Linked DNA regions of Homo sapiens: regions 2, 3, 4 and 5 are each linked to region 1. Evidence: promoter capture Hi-C in 16 types of primary human blood cells and fetal thymus (Javierre and others, 2016). All regions are on one chromosome and are shown on one strand. The core of a region is centred on a gene start or on the middle of the fragment in contact, and the rest is flanking DNA. Distances in the headings are between cores, read along the strand shown. Region 1 holds the start of FZD1 (frizzled class receptor 1). Region 2 holds the start of CDK14 (cyclin dependent kinase 14). Region 3 has its middle 13 kb from the start of MTERF1. Region 4 has its middle 31 kb from the start of MTERF1. Region 5 has its middle 93 kb from the start of MTERF1.

Region 1 (4,069 bases), core at 673-3,172:
GCACGAAGCCACGCAGCGCGTCCACGTTGTTAAGCCCCACGAAGCACACTCCGCTCAGCACATCGCCGTCCACCTGGCCCAGCGCCAGGATGGTGATGGTCTTGATGGCCGGCACAGCCCAGGCGGCCAGGTGAAAATACTGTGAGTTGGCTTCGATGGCCTCGTGGCCCCACTTCATGCCAGCCGCCAGGAACCAGGTGAGCGACAGGATCACCCACCAGATGGAGCTGGCCATGCTGAAGAAGTAGAGCATCATGAAGAGGATGGTGCAGCCCTCCTTCTTGGTGCCCTGCGCCACAGTGCGTGCCCCGTCCTCGGCGAACTTGTCATTACACACCACTCGGTCTTCCAGGAGGAAGCCGGCGATGTAGGCCACGGCCACGGCCGTGTAACAGCCGGACAAGAAGATGATGGGCCGCTCCGGGTAGCTGAAGCGCCGCATGTCCACCAGGTACGTAAGCACCGTGAAGAGCGTGGAGGCGCAGCACAGCACTGACCAAATGCCAATCCAGGTGCGCGAGAAGCGCAGCTCCTCGGGCCCGAAGTACATGAGCCCATACACCTTGGTCGGCTCACAAGGTGCGCCGCAGTCCTTCTCCCCCAGGAAGTGGTAGTTGAGGTAGGAGGGCACCTTGAGGGCGCGCGGGCAGGAGAACTTGCCTCGCTCCGACGCGCCGGCGCCCCCCGGGAAGCCGCCACGGTGCCCTCCGCCGCCGTGCTGAGGGTTGCTGGTCCAGAACTCTGGAAGCAGCGAGGGCGTCGGGGTGCCCTTGTCGGACGTGTTCTGGCCCACGCACAGCTCGCCGGCGCCGTGCACCGGGAACTTCTCACACTTGAGCGTGTCTGGCCACTGGAAGCCGAACTTGTTCATGAGCGCCTCGCAGCCCTGGCGCGCGCGCTCGCACAGGGAGCGGCAGGGCGGCAGCGCCTGCTCTAGCACGGTGCACACGGGCGCGTACATGGAGCACAGGAAGAACTTGAGCTCAGCGGAACACTGCACTTTCACTAGAGGGTAGAACTGGTGCACCTCCAGGCCCGCGTCCTCCTGGTTCGTGTGGCCCAGCAGGTTGGGCATGATGGTCTGGTTGTACGCGATGTCCGTGCACAGCGGGATGGAGATGGGCTGGCAATAGCCGTGGTCCGGGACGGAGATGCCCCGCTCGCCGTTGTACTGCTGCCCGCTCTGTTGCTGCTGAGGCGGCGGCGGCGGTTGCTGCCCCGGCCCGGGCCCCTGGCCTGGCCCCTGGCCCGCCGCCTGGGCCCGGACCCCCAGCAGCAGCGGAGCCTCCAGCAGCCAAAGCAGCAGCAGCAGCTGGCGCGCCAATCGCCGGGGGTCAACTGGCGGGCGGCGGCGGCCACCGGCGTCCCCGCTGCCCTCCTCCGCCAGCCGGGCCGAGAGCGCCCCGGCACAAAGTTCCCAGCTCGCGCCACCGCCGGCGGCCCGGGACTTCTTAGGCGCCTCCTCCTCAGCCATACTTTCTCGGCTCCTCTCTTGGCGCCGCTCCGCTGGGGCTGCCAGGGGCACGGCCGGCGGCGGCTCCCCCTGCGGCCAGGGAGACCTCTGCGCGGGTGCCCTCCGTCGAGCCCAAGCCGCTTTCGGCCCGCTCCCCCGGCTCCTGTTCTGCGTACCGCAGCCGCCGCCGCCGCGGAAACTTGCGATTCATGAAGCGCGGGCGGCGGGGAGAACCCGGGTGGCTAGGGCGCGCCGGGGTCGTGTCCCGCCTTCCTGGCCCTCGGCTCGCTGGCTCCCGGCTGGCGGCGCCGCGCTAGTGGCCGCGGCCCCGTAGAGAGCGCAACTCTCCGCAGCCCAGCGGGCTCGGCTCCCCCCTGCGCCTCCGCCTCCTTCTCCGCCGCCGCCGCCTGACCATTTGTGTCAATCCCTCAACTCGCTCCCTCTCCTCTGCCTCGCGCGCCCTCGGACCGGTTTCCAGGCGCCCCGTAGTCTGTCTTTCACCAGGAGGGAGGAGCCTTGAAACCGACGCAGAACTGGAGGCTCAGGGACCGTCGCCCAATCGCGGCTCCGGCTTCCCGGCGCAAAGGGAGCCGGCCGCCTCCTCGCCAGAGCGAAAGCCAGCGGCAGGAGGGCGGGGTAGGAGGAGGCGGGAGGAGGAGGAAGTAGTGGTGGTGGCACTACTCAGGCACAAAGAGTAGGATTGCTCTGAAGCGGGACAGGCTTGGTTGCTTTTGCTTTTTCAGAAGAAAAAGGCGAGGATACGTAGGAGAATGGTCCCATATGCTGCTGGAGATAATGAATAGGAGTCAGAGGACCGCGGGACTTCGCTTTTCTTTTATTTTATCCATTATCATGTTTAAAAATCCTGCTCTTAACGCTGGTTACCAACAGCAAACCGGGTTCTGCTTCCAGAACAGATGCCTTTGACTTAAGGAGCGCACGGTTTCCTTTGAGTTTGTGTCTGTCGAGGTTTTGTTTAACATATTACATTAATAAATCCTCCAGTTCGCAGGCTGGGCTTGGCGGGCTTTGGTCGCGCCATTTCCCCAGAGGAGACGTTCACGGGATCGCTGTCAAATGAAACAAAACACAAACTTTGATGGAATTTGGAAAGTAAAGCCAGATGCGCCTTCTGCTACTATCATTCTTCTTGGAGTCAAACTCCTTTTTTTCCGCCTCTTTAATCAAGTCAGAAACAGAAGCAAAAGAAAACTATCCATTAAATTTTTGGAGAGAAAAACTTAAGAACCCGACGACCGAGGCAGTGGGGGCGCCTCTCTGGGATCGTCCTCGCCGCTCCAGACCGCAGAGGTGGCGCCGGCGGGAGCTGCACTCGCCGGCAGCTTGGGCCCCTGGGGAGCCTTTCTAAACCCTGGGGACGCCCACGGCTCCGATGGGAACTCCTGGGACCTGGGCCATTTAGGTTCCACAGGCTGGGCTGCAGAGCTGGAGACGCCAGTTTAATAAACAAAACAAACAAACAGTCTGAAAGCAAACAGCGAACTGCACATTCTCTTCCTAATTCCAAAACAGCATAATCCGTCTCAACAGACGCACATTAATGTTGTTTTCCTTGTAAGATTATTTTAAATGATGGTTTGACTATGTAATTCAGTTTTATAAGAAAAGTGCCATTGGACTATTAATTCTTCCATTTTTTTTTTTTTTTTGCCTGTGATCAGACTCTATCTCAGCGTACTTTTCACCAATTACTTTCTATCATTCATTTACACATTCATTTGTTTAATAGATACCAACCACCCATTGTGCTATAAGCACTCTTAGGTCGTAGAGTATAAAATGAAGGAGACCTGTGCCAGCCTTAGAGAGGGGCATAGTACAGTGAGGCACAGAAATGCAAATCACTTGTTACAGTGTCCATCCCAAAGCCAAAAAGGCACATAGAAAGCAACCAGCTCAGATGAAATGGGGTTCTGACGGAGAGGTAGGTGCAAGGTGCAAAAGATTAAAGCTCAAATTCACTTGAATTGCTGAAGGGGGCCAGAGAGGTGAGTGTAGCTGAGGCACTTTGAGGGGAGGCAGGAGAAAAGGTTTTAATCCAGACTAAAACGTTTGGGCCAAATTATACAGAAAATAGAAAACTATTGAAGGTCACTTTCCCCACATAAGCAGGGAGTGATTCCAGGGTGACTGAAAGAGGGCACCTGAGGCAGGCTGTCATTAGGAAGCTTTAACATTCATCTACACATAAAGGTTACTACTTAGATGGGTGTTACTTGTACTACATGCTAACAAGTCTCTGAGAATTTCACTACCCAGCATGTTGGTGTCTATAAAGAAGGTGCAGTCATATCTTTACCTGCTAAAGCAAAATGACATCTGTTTGTCTCAGATACATATGTTATTGTTTTTCAAATGTTTATATAAGCAGTACCTTCATAAAATGCATTTTTGCTTTAAAGTATTTGATTGCTAGCATTTTTTTAAAGCAACAGGTACTAAATGCACAATTATGTGAGCATGTGTACGTGTGTTGACTGTAATTTATGACACATTTTGATATTGAAAAGGAGGTTGGGAAGCACAGCTCTCTGAAGTCCTTTGAACCGTTCAATAAGTGTTCATTTTCACTCTAGCATCCTGGCCCCCAGGCTC
Region 2 (4,069 bases), core at 1,012-3,511, 670 kb after region 1:
TACAACTATAATCACTTCAATATCTCCTATTACAATACTCCATAATGAGATCTACGATTCAGAATCATATTTTCCATCAATACAAGAAATAATCAGCTGTGCTCACTGCACTGCATTCTGTGTCCTAAAGGGAGGATATAAAATCCACCAGCTCTTAGAAGACATTTTAACAAGAGTTGGATTCAAAAGGAGTTTCACATCACTAAATCTCAGTAAGCTAGAAAATCCAATTAACTATAATACCCCCATTTGCCAGCACTGTACTTAATCCAAATTTTACTGATTGTCGATCAAAACCTTGAAATTATTTAAATATAAGGAACTTTTAGATTAATGTCCTTGGTTTCTTACTGAGACTCAATTGCAATGAATTATTTAACACAAAACTGGAGGGGCTCCAGCAGAATCATTAGCATTAGTAAATATATAGTTAATGTGTTTTAGAACACGGCTTAATGGACTCCAGAACCCGCCTCTGCGACGGTTTGGGTCAGGGTTGAAACATCCTCGTTAATAATGCACACGACTCAACATTTCCCTCTCTCACACTCTTCTTGGCTTCAAACTTCATCTTAATGCAGGGACTCTCCACATGTATCCCTAATTCTGAAGAGTGAAATTAATATCCAATACATGCAATAAATAAAACTAAAGATTGGTTTCATACCATAACTTTACAGTCATCTGGGGAAAGATTTTGCATACCAACACAAAATTTTAAGTCGAAAGACAAAAAAAAAAAAAAAAACTTGGCTAAATTTCGATCCATTGTACTCTCTCACTTGAAGAAAGTTTGCATATCTTACAATGAATGGGTGGAAGGATATCTGTAACACTCATGTGCATCCCAGGGTTTTATTTTAAGGAATTAAGTACCTTTATGTTTAATTTCCATTAACACTTTCGTTAACATGGATGACATTTAAAACAAGTGAAACAAAGACTAGGCAGCTTCCTAGGGACTCGCAGGGGTTATCTTTTGTGTCTATAGCATTCTCTTGCTCAGGGCAGTTACATGTTATTAGTGAAAGTTGTGACAGTAGGGGAGGCAGCTAACTCTTCAGGTTAAAAGGGGTTTTCTATGCCCAGTACTCAAAATCTAACAAACCCATTCCACGTGATACTGCTGTCACCCTATTACAACCTGTGACATGCATTTATTCGTCACTGTCCTAAACACTGTTGGTCAGTTGGTTTGTTGTTTGGTTTAAAGACAACAGCCCCTGAGCTCTATTAAATGGAACAAGTTCGAGAGACATTCCTAAATGTCCAGACAACTCCACAGCGCGCATTTCTCTCCAGCAGCGGGAAGATTCAGAGACCTCGAGACTGAACACCCAAATCTCGCTTTCCAGGACCCGAAGTACCGAACAATAGGTCCCAAGGTAACTGTCCCACTTCCCTTTAGGTTGGATACGTTAAACAATACCAGGGCACAGTCTAACGTTTCACCAATTTCCAAAGCTAAATTACTGACTAAACGCCCAATATCCAAGCCTGTGCGCAAAAAATAACAAGTGGCCCAAGCAGCCGCGCAGCCCCTTGCGCGGTGGGGGCCGAGGGGTCCCCTCGCCCGTCCCCCACGCGCGCGAAAGGGCGAGCACTAGTGGCGGAGGAGGGGAGAACCCATATTGTAGGCTTGAGAGAATCTACAAATGAACCCCCAGATCCTGAGGAAGAGGGGTCTCTTTCCTTTACGTCCTTGCCCTCCCCCGGGTCCCTAGCACTGTGCCCTCGATCCCCGCCTACAACGCACCCCACGCCAGCCCCGCTGGCAGCTGCATGGCTGGTGCCAGGAACGCGGCGGGGGCGCAGGCCGAGGGGAGCGGGCGCTGGGGGGGCCGGGGGCAGCGCGCTACTCACCAATGCGACTGAAACTCTCCGACAAAGTTCTCCGCAACTTCTTCATCTTGCCGATCTTCTCGGCCGGCTGCGGCTCAATGAGGTCACACATCTGGGCGACGCGGAGCCCCGACAACTTCCCCAAACTGGTCCAGGCACAGCTCAGACAACGGCGAGGGCGCGCGCCGCGGGGAAAGCGGCGCCTCCTCCTCCACCACCTCCTCGGCGGGCCGGGAAGCGACGCGCAGGTCTAGGGAGGCGAGCAGCAGGCAGGCGGAGGACGGCAGGCTCCGCTCCGGCCTGGGCCGCAGCTGGGCGGGCGGGGGCGGTTTACGTGGTGCCGGGGGCGGCCGCGCTCGCCGCCGCCGTGGTGGCCCCGCGCCGCGCCGCCGCCGCCCGGCTCATTTTCCCTCCTTTGTAACGGAGAGAAGCGCGGCCGGCAGGGGGAGTGGTGCGGCCGAAGGAGGAGGCGGGGCGGGCCGGGTACAAGGTGCGGGAGTCGCCTGGCGCCGAGTGCGCGGGGCGAGGGCGAGTGGGCCGGCGGGAGAAGTTCTCAGCCCAGAGTTGCGGGCGCAGCGCAGAAGGAGCCGCGGCGCGGAACCGCCAGCCTGACAGCTCCTGCTGCCCTCCTGCTGCCGCCGCCACGCCCCTCCCTCGACGAAGGCCCCTGGGCGCGGGATCCTAGCACGACCTCGGCTCCCCGCTCGCCTCCCGCGTCCTCCGCGGCCCTCTGTGTCTGGCTCGCGCCCCGGCGGCGCCCCCTCCCGGCCGCGCCCCTCCCGGCCGCCCCCGCGCTCCTCCCCCGCCCCGCCCGCGCGCGGGAGGATCACGAAGGGACCGGGGTGGGAGCGGGCAGCGTCTGGGGACAGCGTGTTGGGCTGTGGGGAGGTTACCGAAAGGAAACGGGCCGAGTCCAGTTGTTTGAGCGGTTTTCTCCTTCCACGAGCGTGTGTGAAAAAGCGCGGAGTTCGGTGGAGGGCAGCTGCCAGGACTGCCTCCTGGACTGGGTGCGGTAAGGCCTTAGGGATGCATTCAGATGTAGGGTGCCTTATTTTGGGCCGAGAAAGCTGTCAAGTGAAAGATCCAAGGGGAAAGGTGGGCCTGGATTTTTTTGTTGTTGTTTGCGGTGGGTTTTTTGTTTGTTTTGAGGTCAAGTGCAGAAGCAGCGGAAGCTTCAACTGTAACCCTCCAGAAGGCAGGGATCATGCTGTTTCCCTCATCCTTGTCTCTGATCTTGGTGACACATGTAGGTGATTTCTGATAGGAATACCCAGTTCTGCAGTAAATAGCAGACACAGCCCTTGGTCTTTTTCTATTAAATTCTTAGAATATATTTCTGAATTGGGAGATTTAAAGGCTAAACAGATTCCGACCTCCTTTTCCCCCACCTCAAAAACAGAACTTTAAAAAGGAGTGGGGGAGGTGTTTATAAAATCCCAGGACAAACAGTTCCAGCAGCGAACACACATCGTCTTCATTCTGAAAAAACCTGGTGCGGCGTGAGTTCCAAACGTCAGTCTCCCAGGGGAGAGAGAAGGAAGGTGGGGGAGGGCTTGATTGTGTTGATCTGAGGCCAGCAAACTCCTTATGAATAGAAACGTTAGTAATCTTGAGTCATTTGGCTGTGTAAGTAATAAGAGCTTGTGAGGGTGTGACAATGCTGTTTGGCTTGTAGGAAATTTTGGGGAGTTTATGTTTTGTTAAAAGATTTTTATCTTAAAAACTAGCCCCCTGCCTTCCTTAAATTGTGAGGTAAAACAGTGATTTGTTCCGCCCTACACTGAGCACATTGTAGGATCTTGATAGATTGCGGATGATAAAAGACAGGAAGTCAAGCTAAGTGGGGAGCAGAGGGGGGCAAGGAATTCGCCAGGAAAGACCATATGAGTTAAAACGCAAAGCTGTTGGATCCTGGCTGCCATGTCTAGATAATTACAGACAGCACCAAGGGTGGCCTCATACCGGAAAAAAGTTTGACTTTTACCACTTCCTCAGGTTAGTTAGGGAGAAAGTTTTCAGCAGTTATGAATGAAAAGACAAATGCAACCAATCAAAACACTAATGGGTTGTACGAGTCAACAAACACGAAGAAATATTAATTTAACGAACTTTCACTATTATACACCTGTGACTGTTATCCACTGTGACAATGGCTGTTTCAAATATATAATATGTTAAATATATGTTTATTTTACCTTCGCAGTATTTTTTTTTTTTTTTCCGAGAC
Region 3 (4,069 bases), core at 788-3,287, 600 kb before region 1:
CAAATAACTGCAAGAATTTGGATAATATCACAGATTAAAAAGAAAAAAAATGAGTTTCTTCCAGATGAATTTAGCAGGAAGGAATTTAAAAAGTGAATATTTATAGATGGGTTTATTGGGTTATTAAACTAGTAATTTCTCCCCTTAAATAATTTCTAAGGCTGGGTAGGTACATGGTCTATGGCTAAAGATCCAACAATATAGCTTTCCTGTAAAAAAACAAAACAAAACCCTGACTACTGGCTCCTTCCTTGTTAGTCTGTAATGCCTCCTTACTTGCTACCATCTAGTGGAGATCCAGTAGAGAACTGTTGATGGCAGAACCCTAGCCACAAACTTTGGTAATAGTCCATTGTTATACAGTTCAGGAAAAGTTTGGCACAAGCGAGCTAGAATAGCAGGACTGTATTATTATTAGATTTTGGGAAGAAATAGAAGATACACTGATGGAATTTCATTTTCTGTCTCAGTTTCACTATTTTTCTGATCAGTATTTGGGATTTATTTGTCCTTAATAGAAATATTATGTGAAGATTAATGAACTTTTGTACATGAATTGCTTTATGTTAATTATGAACAATTTTAGTATGATGATATGCTAATTCTTTCATTTCCATTTTGAATATCCCAGTGCCACTTTCACCAGCTCTCAAGGTACCTTCAAATTCTGCCCACCATAATTCTCTTTCTTTTAAAAGTTTACCTTGGAAATGAATTTATTCTGTGGTAATAATCATTGTAAAAGTCTTTGAACAATACAAAGAAACAAAGTCTCAGCTAACCTATTTATCATGAGGTTGAAGAGATATCCTTTTATTCTTAGTTCACAAAGGGGTTTATTTATTTAAATCAGGGATGAAAGATGGTTTTTGAAAAAAAATCCTTTAAAAGTAATCTCTTAATCATTTAATGAATGACATCAGTGGATTTCTGCATATCACTTTTTGTTTTTACTTAAAACCTATGCCCTATTCAATTTACTAATATTTTACTTAGATTTTCATTAGTATTCACAAGGGAGATTGGTCTACAGATCCTTCCTACCTTTTATTATGAAAGTTTTGGTACATAGATTTTTTTTTTTTTTTTTTTTTTTTTTAATAGGGGAAGGAGGTTGCCACTTTGTCAGGTTTTTGGATCGGGGCTGTGCTAGCCTCAAGATAATTTGGAAGCTTACTATTTTTTCCCTATGTTTTGAAACTGTTTGAAAACTGGAAATGATCATTTCTTTAAAGTTTGGCACAACTTTGAAATTATCTGGGCCTGGTGTTTTGTTCAGAATAGATCTTTTACAACAATGGAAAGTTGTTGTAAAGGCTTATATGAAAGCTATTGACCTGTATCTTTTTGGTAGACAGCAATATAAAGCTCTCTCTTATTGTAGTTAATACATTTTGGTTTGAATTCTACATTGAAATTAACATTGCCATGCTTTATGTCTATTCAAATAATTGTACTTGTTCAAACAGCTTTACTTGGAATAACCAAAAACTGGAAGTAACCCAATGGACATTGGAACAACATGGAATTGAAAAGTACATTGTGATATATTCAGGCAGTGGAATATTACTCACCAATATGAAATAATGAAATATTGATACATGCAACTACATGAGCAAATCTCAAAATATGCTGAATGAAAGAAGCGAAAGAGTAAAATCTTTATTATTCAGTTTACATAAAATTCTAGACAGTGCTCACTAATTTGTGGTGACAGAAAGCAGATCATTGGTTACCGAGATGGGGTGGATGGATGAAGAAGGCCATGAAGAAAGGACTGCAAAAGACTACAGGGAAACTTTTGGGAGTGATCTATATATTCATCATCTTGATTGTGGTGATTGTTTTGTGAGTCAAAATGTATCAAATTATATGTTTTAAATATGTGCAGTTTAGTACACTTCAGTTATACCTCAGCAAAGCTGAAAAATCCATTCAACTCTGATTTGAAATGCCATCTTCGTCTGATGCTGTTTACATGTCTCTGAGTGTGTTTCTAGGCTCTCTTCAAGTCTACTAAACAAATATATTTGACTTTATGTTTCTATATTGACATAAATAGTTAGACAGTATCTTTTCAGTAAAAGTGTTGGGAGAACTGGGAAGCCACCTGAAAAAAAATATTGATAGATTCGTATTCATACACCAGGATAAATTCCAAGTGGAACAGTCATGAGCTCCAAACCACTCAAGCCCCTGCCTTGGCATTACACTTAATGACCTATACTTAAGTCAGGCCATGACATGAACTAAACACTGGTACTAATATCAGAATCTTTTTCATAGGGGGCTTCCTGGAACTTGACTTGGACCTATGGGCTAGAATTTACCGAAAGCAGCTGACCCGTGCTTTGCTTTTACTATTCCAGGAATGCAGATAAAGTCTAACTTCCAGCTAGACATGGTGGCTCGTGTCTGTATTCCTAGCTACTCGGGAGCCTGAGATGAGAGGATTCCTTGAGCCCAGGAGTTTGAGTCCATCCTGGGCAACATAGGAAGCCACCATCTCTTAAAGAAGAAAAAAAAAAAACCTAGATTTTGACCTTTTCGTCACAAGAAAACAAAGGCTCTTATGAAGTCCCATGCCCTGTTAAGCACTGGTTTATTTAATTAGTTAATGGATTGGGTTTACGCTGTCATACAGCTACATATAGCCTCCTTTTCCAAGGAAAGTAGGCTGCAACCACCCAAGTTAGAGGCAATCTTTTTTTTTTTTTTTTTTTTTTTTTTTTTTGCTTTACTGCAGTTAGGGAGAACTGATTGTCATGTTGTACCCTAAATATCAACTAAAGTGTCTATGACAAAATTAGTGCAGTTAGATCAGCATTATCCCACTCTGTATGTTTGAATTTCTCTCTCTGACCTGCACAGCTACTTCAGAAGCCCTTCTGAATGAAGCTTTATGTTTGCAATTCATATAAGTACAATACAGCTGGCTATAGCTTACTGTTTTAGCTGAATGTGATAAATTATTCACAGAATTAAAGTTTAACTTTGTGATAACAAGTATATAAATTATATATAACTGATTAAAAAGATTAAAATTAGGTCTTAATCTGTGTTTACTTGTGTGTAGAACTTCATGAACTGTAGGGGGAACTAGATAGAGGTTTTGCTGTACAGTTTCTAAAGCCAATTAGCTCTAAATCTGGCTGATAATCCAAACTAAATTAAGCGTCCTTTAAATGCCAAAAGAGGTCGGCACTGTGCCATTTTTTCTGTAGGTTGTCAGCCTTAAGCTGTAAGAAAATAAACAGATACTTTTGCATATATATATTTCCCTGTTAGTTTAATGTCTGAAACTGTTTTCTTTTAATGGTTATTCTTTTTCTTTTCTCTCTCCCTTCCTTCCTTCCTTCCTTTCTTCCTTCCTTCCTTCCTTCCTTCCTTCCTTCCTTCCTCTCTCTCTCTCTTTCTTTCTTTTTCAAGTACCACTTTTTCATTTTTCATTGTCTTAGTTCTGAAATTACATTAGGGTGCTTTTTTCATTTTCATCTAAGTTTAACACCTTGTTTGTTACACAATGTTAATGCTTAAAAATATACAGCAATGTCTTTATACTTATTCAGTTACTACTGCCAAATCTTCTGTTCTTACTTAATTTTCACCTGTCAACTTCTGTGGTGGTATTTGTTGTGTATTTGTACACAAAACCCAACATAAAGTGGTATGTTCTCCACATGATTGCAACTGATCTTAAATTTTCATCTTTTTGGGGGTTTAGGAGTTTTTTTAAATAGAGATCCTAATTGTGACATCTGAAGTGAGGGAATCAGATTTTGTTGTGAGACTAAATGTTATATGCACATTATAAACTATCCTTGATTTCTCCATCATTTAGAAAAAGTTGCAAACAAATGCATGTGCTCTTGGGTCTCCCATGGCATCTAATAGCTGCTTTAATGACCTTGCCCACTTAACTGTGATTTGGTAAATAGTTCTAGATCTGAGGATTGATATGTGAGGGAAAATGGTAGAATTCGAAAAAAGTAAAATAAATGCGGTATAAAGCACCATATGTACAAAGCATGCCCTAGATGTTATGGTGGCTACAAAAGAGGTTGAAGTC
Region 4 (4,069 bases), core at 1,057-3,556, 590 kb before region 1:
ATCAGCCCCCAGCTGGGAGAGCCTCTCCTGTGTCTGCAAGAGTAGATGGGGGAGCAGGAGATGACCCCCTGTCCATGTCCATTTCTGACCACTGGTACCTTCCCCTTTAGCAGTTGGTGCCATGCCCATGTTTTCTTTGTCCTAAGTGGGGCTTTGGTGGGCTGAATTCTTCCCTTCCCTAGGGGCAGCCCATACTGAGTGCTGGATCTCCAGAGATTCTGCAGTTCCCTAGAGACCTGCTGGCCCCTGTGGTTGTGAAAGTCAAAGCGGGTTGTGGGGTACGTTTGCAGGGGGTCTGGTGATGTGGCAATTCAAAGGCTGAGGTTCCCTGGGGAGGGCAGTGGGCCACAATCGGTGAACAACCAATATGGCACCTGCTGTCTCAGTTCAGGCCTAAGGGGTATGCAGGCACTTCTGTGTGAGTTGGTACCTGGTTCTCTATCCCTGGAAGTTCCCAGATTGCCACCAACAGCATTTCCTGGGGTCATGAGAGCACAGGGACTCCTCAAAAATTTGGTGGTCAGCAAATTGTTACAGGGGTAAGAGGAGCAGAGAAGCCCTACCCTTTCCGTAGGGCTATGGGTTTCTCAGGGGTTGATCTCTGCTGCACTCCTGCTGCTTTCCTTTTCTGCACTACAGCTTCATTCTCTGGACTCTCTGACAGATCCTGGTTGTCTTCCTTCATTTTTTCATTCAGATTTTGACCATTCACCTATAATTTTGATCTTATTTCTGAGGAGAACTGGCATCTGACATCCCTAGTTAGCCATCTTGAAAAAAAAAAAGCAACAAAAAACTGATGCTCCCTTTGTGAGAATCCATGCTTAAATTCTCCTTAGACCACTAAGACAGGAAAGGCTTACTTCTGAGCAGGTGGGCTATTTTCTATCTTGTAGAATCACAGTCATCCTGACCACATGTAGGTGGTTGTGCTTCTGTTATTTCCCCTCCTGTAGCTACCAGGAAGCTAAGCCTTTCAATATATTATTTTTCCAAAATTTTATTCTTAAAAATTTTAAACATATAAAAGTTGAAAGAATTTTACAGTTAACATCTACCTGTCGTCTATATTCCACTCCTTACATTTTATTATACCTCCTATATCATATATCTTTCCATGTATCTATATATCTATCAAAAATACTTATTTTAAAGTCCATACATGATAACTTCAATATCTGGAGCCTTTTTTAAATTTGTATTTTCAGTTGTTCTGGCTTGCATTCAAACTGTCTTGTTTCTTCATGTGCCTGGTTATTTTTTATTGTGTACCTGACATCATATTTGCCAAGGTTTAGAAAACATTTGAGACATGGAATGATACTAACTTCTTCCATAGAAGATTTATGTTTTCTGCCAAATACCTTTGGGCCTTAGCAATCTGTGACTCACCTCATTCCAATTTCAGGGACTGAAACAATTTAACACTGTGTAGGTCTGCCTACTTCTGCTTTACCTTTCCTTCTAGGTATCTCCTTGGTCTGAAGCCAAAATGAAGAGTATTTATGAGTCCTCCTTTTCCTTCAGGATCTGTAGTTTAGTCTGTCCCTCACCTAGTGCTATCAAAAGCCCTGCTTAGCCTCTCAGCTGCCCCTTTCAGAATCATTAAATGCTCCATGGGGATGAGCACCCTCAAAATAAGCAAAGTTCAACTTTCTGAGTGAGGCCACCAAATCCTAGACCACCTTTATTGAAAACTGGAACTCTTTTATTTAAATAGAGTTTATCCCATATACATTTAGTTATATGACAGATATTTTTTGCCTCAGTATTAACATCATATTTTAGGTTATATTTTCTGTGTTTATTGATTTTTAAAAATTTCACCATATGGTGTATTTTCTTTGATTTTTGTTATGTTTTGTTCTTTTGTTCTGATAATTAGGAAGTCTTATATTCTCTTTTTAGCTATAAGTTCTTTGTAGCTTTAAATGTATATAATACTTTTTTAAGGTTGTCAGTTTCCTTATCTGTAAGTTGTAATAATAAACTATTTTACTGAGTTGTGAGAATTAAAATAATCACACTAATCATTTATTTGTCATACCGCCTGGTATATGGTAAGCCTGTTATAAATGTTGGCTTTAGAGATTATATATTGCAAATGAATGAATCACAAGATCATAAAGCAGAGAGAAAAGAATACTGAAAAGGGAAGGGGAGAGTAAACATCCCCTGCTATTGGTGGGGTTCTCTCAGGCCCAGTATGCAGGTCTCTTTGGTAGCATCTTCATCCTCTATGCCATTTACTCAGTACCCATATCTAAGGTCCTGGCTTGGTCTTCACAGCAGACCTATCATGGAATAACTGGATAAACCTGAGACTGAGCATTCCTCTAAAATGTATTTGTCAGGATAATTTATTGACATTTTGTTGTTGTTTCCATTATCCCCAGGAGCTGTTATGTTCTGATTCTGGGATTCCTAGCTTCAAGGTATTATAAACTGCCTTTATATGGCAGACCTGAAAAATAACATGGATGAAAATGGAAGTTTCTTGGTCTCTGGAATAAAACCCCATCACCCATGTTATTGTTTTGGGATTAGAGATGTTGAGGGAGGGAGGCAATGGGAGCATGAAGGTGAGGGGTTTTCTGGGAGGGCAGAGGAAACAGAACTGGCAGGAATGGAAATAGCTTTCAGAGATTTGGGGGGAGTACTAATCTGGGTGATAGCTTAATGAATGGTTGCAACCTGTCCCCTTGCCTTTTAATAAGTCTTTGGATGGAGAGTTGAGGTGGTTCATGTTGATACTGTGGACAGCAAACATTTATAACTGTCATGGAAGCTGGCTTAAAAGATCCCTGGCACAGAAGAATGGTGTGGTCCTTCTTTGAATGGACTGGTGGACTGAGGCAATTAACATCTCATGTGTGATCATGATGGCCTAAGGATCATAAGAGATTTACTTTGTTTTCAGGGCACCATCCTGCTTCCCCATGCTGGTGGGGGGCATTGAAGAGGAGAAGGCAGTCACCCAAAAGTGAATTGGAATATCTTGATACTTCTGGCTGGTGAGGGCAGAGCCAGATTTTTTTTTTTTCTGAGTAGAACATATCCATTTAATGTGAGCTGTCTTGCTCTTAAATGTTGTAAAACAAATTTATACCTTTTTTTGTCCCCCACCCCCACCAAACCGATTGTTATCCAAGTGTGCTTTTTTCTCAACTTAGTCTCAATTAAAAAAGAAAAGATGTGGAAGGCAAATTTGGAAAAACACTTTTATCTCTTGACCTCCTTTGTTAGCAGCTGTAACAATCTTTAGGAAACTTCAAAAGGATACGTGGGAACAAAGGAGAAAAGCCAAGACTGCTGTTCTGTGATGCAGTAGACCAGGAGGAAGAGTGAAACCTTGGTGGAAGCAACAGGTGGTAGCAGTTGGAGGGGAATCAGAACAATCCCAGGGCTGCTGGAAGAAAAGAATGATGGTGTACAGGCTAGACCAAGGAGTGAGGCCTGAGGTGTACCCTGGCAGAAGACTTTTGTCGATTCCTAACTTCCTAGACCCCATCCCATACTTTCACCCCTCAGACCCAGTCTCTGTCTTCATACGCCCTTACATAAATCTTCCACTATGCTGGAGCCCTGGCTCCAGATGATAGTGGCCAATACTGGTGGTTTATATTTAGGACAAGGAAGTTGAACTCCTGTTGCCCAGTAGCAGGGGAGGTCTGCAAGAGGGAAGTGAGGATGATGTTACCAGAAGTTGTGTCACAGGCATAAAAGGTCAGAATTCTTAATGAATTTCCTCAGAGACATTATTATACATCATTCCATAGTATTACTTAACACAGGTGCGTTTTATTCCTATTAAAATATCAGCACAACTATATGTTGGGTTAAATAGGCTTTTAACCTTTTAAATGACCTTTCTTAAGAACCTAACCAGTGGGTATAACATTGTTTCTGTGGTAAAATGCTTTTAAAATCCTACAATAGACTGACAAAAGAGCCTTTGAATACAATCTGTTTGTAAATTGGATTGGCCTGGCTGGGGTAAGGAGGCCCACCCTGTTCTTTAGCTTTAATGTCTACCCTTGTTCAAAGAAGGCAAAGTCTTTTATAGTGA
Region 5 (4,069 bases), core at 716-3,215, 520 kb before region 1:
CAGAAGAAAAAGTCCATGCCACATTTGTGGAAATGGTTAAGTGACCACAGTAACAAAGAATCCAGGGATGATTTAGTGCAGATCATCATGCAGGTTTCCCAGCATGTGTATTTTAAACAGTATTGTGTTGTCTCCAAGTTTGCCAGAGTGTAATCTGTGAGCAACTGGGCAAAATCAGAATCAGAAACCTAGGAGAGTAATATTGTTTTAGAATTGTCTAGCAAAAGACTTTGGTTTGGTTTTGTTACATCTGGAACCAAAATGTCACATGTGGCATACATCATTTAAAGTTTATTATTTTAACCTTAGACCTCCTTGTTTAGAATTTATGCTATTCGGTGCCTTGCATCCCAACATAAGCATTTCTATTCTATTACACGCTAGTTCTTGCCAGTACATGGTGAGTATGGTGAAACCATAGCTTGAATGGCTGGACAGCCCCTTCCACAGTTCCATGCTTTTGCTGGAACTGCCAAACCCAATAGGTTCAAGGGGATGCTCAAAAATTAAGGCATGGCACTAGGTAATTGAAACCATTCTATGCACATCTGGAAAAAACCCCAATTCTGGTCACACACTCTGCTGAAACAGAAATCATCCCATGTTATTGCTGGGAGTTGCAGGAAAGTAAAAGTGGTATCATTTTACGTTTACAGAAGCATTTAGCATTTTCACGGACAGACTCAAAAGCTTGTGATTACAAAGTGTGAAATTCTTATTGTAATTATTCATGAAATCAACAGAACACATATCTAGCAATTGTTCCAAGACCTTCTTTCCTCCCATTTGTACAGGATAGCAATGATCCTACTGATCCATTCTATTGTCCATATCCAAACAAAACAAAACAAGCAAACAACAACAACAAAAATATACAATTTTCCCATTCAGTGGTTGACTTGTTCTAGCCAGGAAGTTTTAATTATTTGTCATTCAGAGTAAGTTCATCCTTGATGCTATGGTGTCCTTCATGCTGGCATGAGGCAAATTATCCTCTGGGATGAAGATGGAGTGAACTTGGCCTGGCTGTGGTCCCTGTAGAAGAGATAAAGGTGCTCAGGGAGTATATGTTTGTGCTCTTAAATCTAAGAAAAATCCCCAGATTGAGAATTTGATTATATTCACTGTGTAGAACTTGAACCTTCCACATGCCTTTAAAATTTACTTGCTTGCAGTTATGGATTTATATGTCCTCCAAAGTTTCATGTCACTTTCTGTGGTAATAATAATATAGCATCCTACTGCTTCTGAGGTGCTTTCAGTATCTTAATTATTTTTACAGTGTTCCCTTATGGGGCATATGGGGTAGGGATTATTTTTCCCACTTTGAAAATGAGAATCCTGAGGCCCAGAGAAGTTAAGTGGCTTACCCAGCATCACACAGGTAGCAAGGATAAGGCTGGCTCTCAAACAGATCTTCTGACTCCAAATCTTGTGCTACTTCCATTAGCATGTGGTGCCTCTTATGTTTTTTGTATTTTTTTCTCACAAAAGTAAATTCTGCTTTGGACCATTTTTCAAAGCAGTTTTGATGGAACACATCCAAATGCTGTTTCCATGGAACCGACAGCATGGAAATGTGCAGCTTCTCAGTCAGGACAGTACTTGTTATCTTGGAATTCTGGGACTGCTGAAGCTCAGTGTGAAATGGTTGCATACATTTCTACTTGTTTAAGCACAACAATTTGGTTGTTCTTTCTCTACGGTATGTATTTCTATCTTATAGATAGTTACTTATCTTAGATTTCTAAATCTCAAAGGTCCTGAGGGCCACTTACAGTCATACTCATCTTTCTATGCTCTACCGCACCTTGTCCAGTGACTTGCAGGAAGTAGTTGTTCAACAAATGTTTACTAAAAGGAATAAAAGATGACATAGTAGGATTTGAAGAATTAAAATGTATTTTCCTGTGTTAGCTATATCAGTCTTTCCAGTACAGATTTCTGCAATGATGGAAATGCTCTATATCTGGGCTGTGCAATACAACAGCTACTGTTGGCTAGTGTGACTGGAGAACTAAGTTTCTAATTTATTTAAATTTAAATTTAAGTAGCTGCATGTGGCTGGTGGTTAACGTACTAGACATAGCAGCTCTAAATTGTAATGTATTTGAACTTTGTCAGATCCTCACATCCTGATTATATTTGGGTCCTTCCATATGCTGATTGTTCTCACTATGTTTTTTGATGAGGAGATTGTACAGCCAGCCCTAAGCAAGGCGATAAAGGAGTGAGCTCAGATTTTCTCTCACACCTGCAGTGGAAGGCCCTTTCTGCTGCTTGACCTCTGGGGAAGGGCTGGTGCTTGCTTCTGAATGTTTTCTGGAAAGTAGGAGTGACTTGTCTCTTGGAGTTGCAAAGGGTTGACAGGGGCTCTAGAAGGTGACACAGTGGGGGATTTCTCAGTTTCTCAAGGCTAAGTAATATATTATCTAGGCCTGTAGGAAAGAAAAGTCCGTCATGTCCTCAGAAAAGCAAATTTTTCCTTAGAAGAAAGAGGAGAGCATGAAGCTAACATATGGTAAATAGATTTCCTCATGCATAAGTCCGAGTGGCGCTCCACTGGGGTAAGAATCTTTAGGCTCTGTCTCTCTCCTTAACATAGGCTGTGTACATCACCAGCAACCATTACATTATGTATTTTTTCTAATTGTGAAACTTCTAAATTCCTCCTTTGAAGTTGACAGTTTGGGATTAATAATAATAATAATAAAAACCTCTCTCCTCTTCTTACCACCTGACAGGAGCAGCAAAAACTGCCTAGGAAGAGAGAAATGCTGTTCCTGCAGGGTGGACCCCTTTAATCTCAGTGACTTCTGAGAACCCCCATTCCTCATTCAGTGGCTTCTGCTACTTCTCTTGAGGGGCCAAAAGGTTAAACAGAGACAGCGTCAGGAGTGAAATGGCAGCCAAATGGGAGAGTACAAGTTGGCCCTTGAGTCAAGGTCTATGTGTTATCATGTGATTCTGGGCACAAGTCCTTTCTCAGGATGTAAATAATGTTCTAAAGGTAGATTTTTAGGCTCTTGTGCTCTATTAGAAGTAAAGCAAACATTGAGGAAAGGAAAATGGGTGCATCATTAACACCAATGTACTCATGGGTGGCTGCAAAAGCTACTCTAAATTAATCTGAAATTTCAGGATGAAAACTTAAGAGTTAAGAATTGGCATCATTATTTGTGAAGCGACTCAAGAGTATCTATTGTGAATCAAAGAGCAGGATCTGCTTCAAGAAGCTTACTATCTAAGGCTGACAAAAACAGTAGATATTAATATTCTGTATTATGTACAAAACTGGAACTTAAAAATGTTTTTCCTTTATAAAAATATGTTCAGATTAACTTTTTAGCCTTCCTTCCTTTTCAAGTAGAGGTGGGAGGTAAGTATTATCTGTCCCTTTAGGCATAAGATGAAAACAAAGTGCAGAGAGGGAAGTGACCTGGCTAAGCTCACAGAGCAATCATGCCCCTATCTACATTGGCATTTGAGCAGGGAACTTCAAACAAGGAGCCACCAGGCTGGCCTTTCTCCTATGGAGTAAGATGACAGCTCCAATTCCTTACTGATGTAAGGGGGCCCGAGTGTATAGAATACATAAATAAATGTGCAAAAGAGGAAAAGAAACCTCAATCTGGCAAAGCTGTTGGAGAGAAGACAAATTAATACCTGTGACTCTGGTTCTGATTCCCTGAACTTTTTTTTTTTAATCAAGCTTTTGCTTTGAAATAATTTTATATATATGGAAAAGTTGCCAAGATACTACAGAGTTCCCATATGCCCGTCACCCAGTTTCTTCTGATATTAACATTTTACATTTGATTTCCTGAGTTTTGCAATAATTTTATATTCATGTTTACAAGTTAATTTGTTTCTATAATGTTCCTATAACATTCCCCTCAAGTTTACTGCTAAGATAGAATAACCTACATATATAATAAGGGTTCAACAGTTGAGCACTAAACATTTTGGTTAAAAAGTCACTTGAGAGTTTTAACTGCAGTTATCATTACTGGAGAAGGGAGAAGGAAGAATAATATTGTGACAAAAGAAAAAACTTTAGAATAAGAGA

Evidence for each region. Contacts are between HindIII fragments. The CHiCAGO score rates a contact against its expected background, and 5 or more counts as called.
Region 2: a contact is called between the fragment with the promoter of CDK14 here and the fragment with the promoter of FZD1 in region 1, in 1 of 17 cell types (monocytes). The highest score is 5.8, in monocytes.
Region 3: a fragment that was not itself captured here is called in contact with the fragment with the promoter of FZD1 in region 1 in 1 of 17 cell types (erythroblasts); the score reaches 5.4 in erythroblasts.
Region 4: a fragment that was not itself captured here is called in contact with the fragment with the promoter of FZD1 in region 1 in 1 of 17 cell types (M2 macrophages); the score reaches 5.1 in M2 macrophages.
Region 5: a contact is called between a fragment that was not itself captured here and the fragment with the promoter of FZD1 in region 1, in 1 of 17 cell types (endothelial precursors). The highest score is 6.7, in endothelial precursors.

What each region holds. Positions count from the first base shown.
Region 1 is chr7:91,262,286-91,266,354 of GRCh38, reverse strand. FZD1 (frizzled class receptor 1) reads right to left here and starts at 1,922. Exons shown (of 1, transcript NM_003505.2): 1 at 1-1,922. The coding sequence starts at 1,474. RefSeq lists silencers at 1,178-1,237, 1,328-1,837 and an enhancer at 1,958-2,137. The HindIII fragment of the contact is 4,268 bases long and covers 1-3,644 here.
Region 2 is chr7:90,594,513-90,598,581 of GRCh38, reverse strand. CDK14 (cyclin dependent kinase 14) reads right to left here and starts at 2,261. Exons shown (of 15, transcript NM_001287135.2): 1 at 1,864-2,261. The coding sequence starts at 1,954. RefSeq lists silencers at 1,624-1,673, 1,734-1,933, 2,124-2,433, 2,454-2,653. The HindIII fragment of the contact is 4,165 bases long and covers 1-3,016 here.
Region 3 is chr7:91,866,084-91,870,152 of GRCh38, reverse strand. No RefSeq gene overlaps it. Among named protein-coding and RNA genes, the nearest start is that of MTERF1, 13 kb to the left of the region's middle. The HindIII fragment of the contact is 1,726 bases long and covers 1,175-2,900 here.
Region 4 is chr7:91,847,970-91,852,038 of GRCh38, reverse strand. No RefSeq gene overlaps it. Among named protein-coding and RNA genes, the nearest start is that of MTERF1, 31 kb to the left of the region's middle. The HindIII fragment of the contact is 5,788 bases long and covers 1-4,069 here.
Region 5 is chr7:91,785,610-91,789,678 of GRCh38, reverse strand. No RefSeq gene overlaps it. Among named protein-coding and RNA genes, the nearest start is that of MTERF1, 93 kb to the left of the region's middle. The HindIII fragment of the contact is 2,546 bases long and covers 693-3,238 here.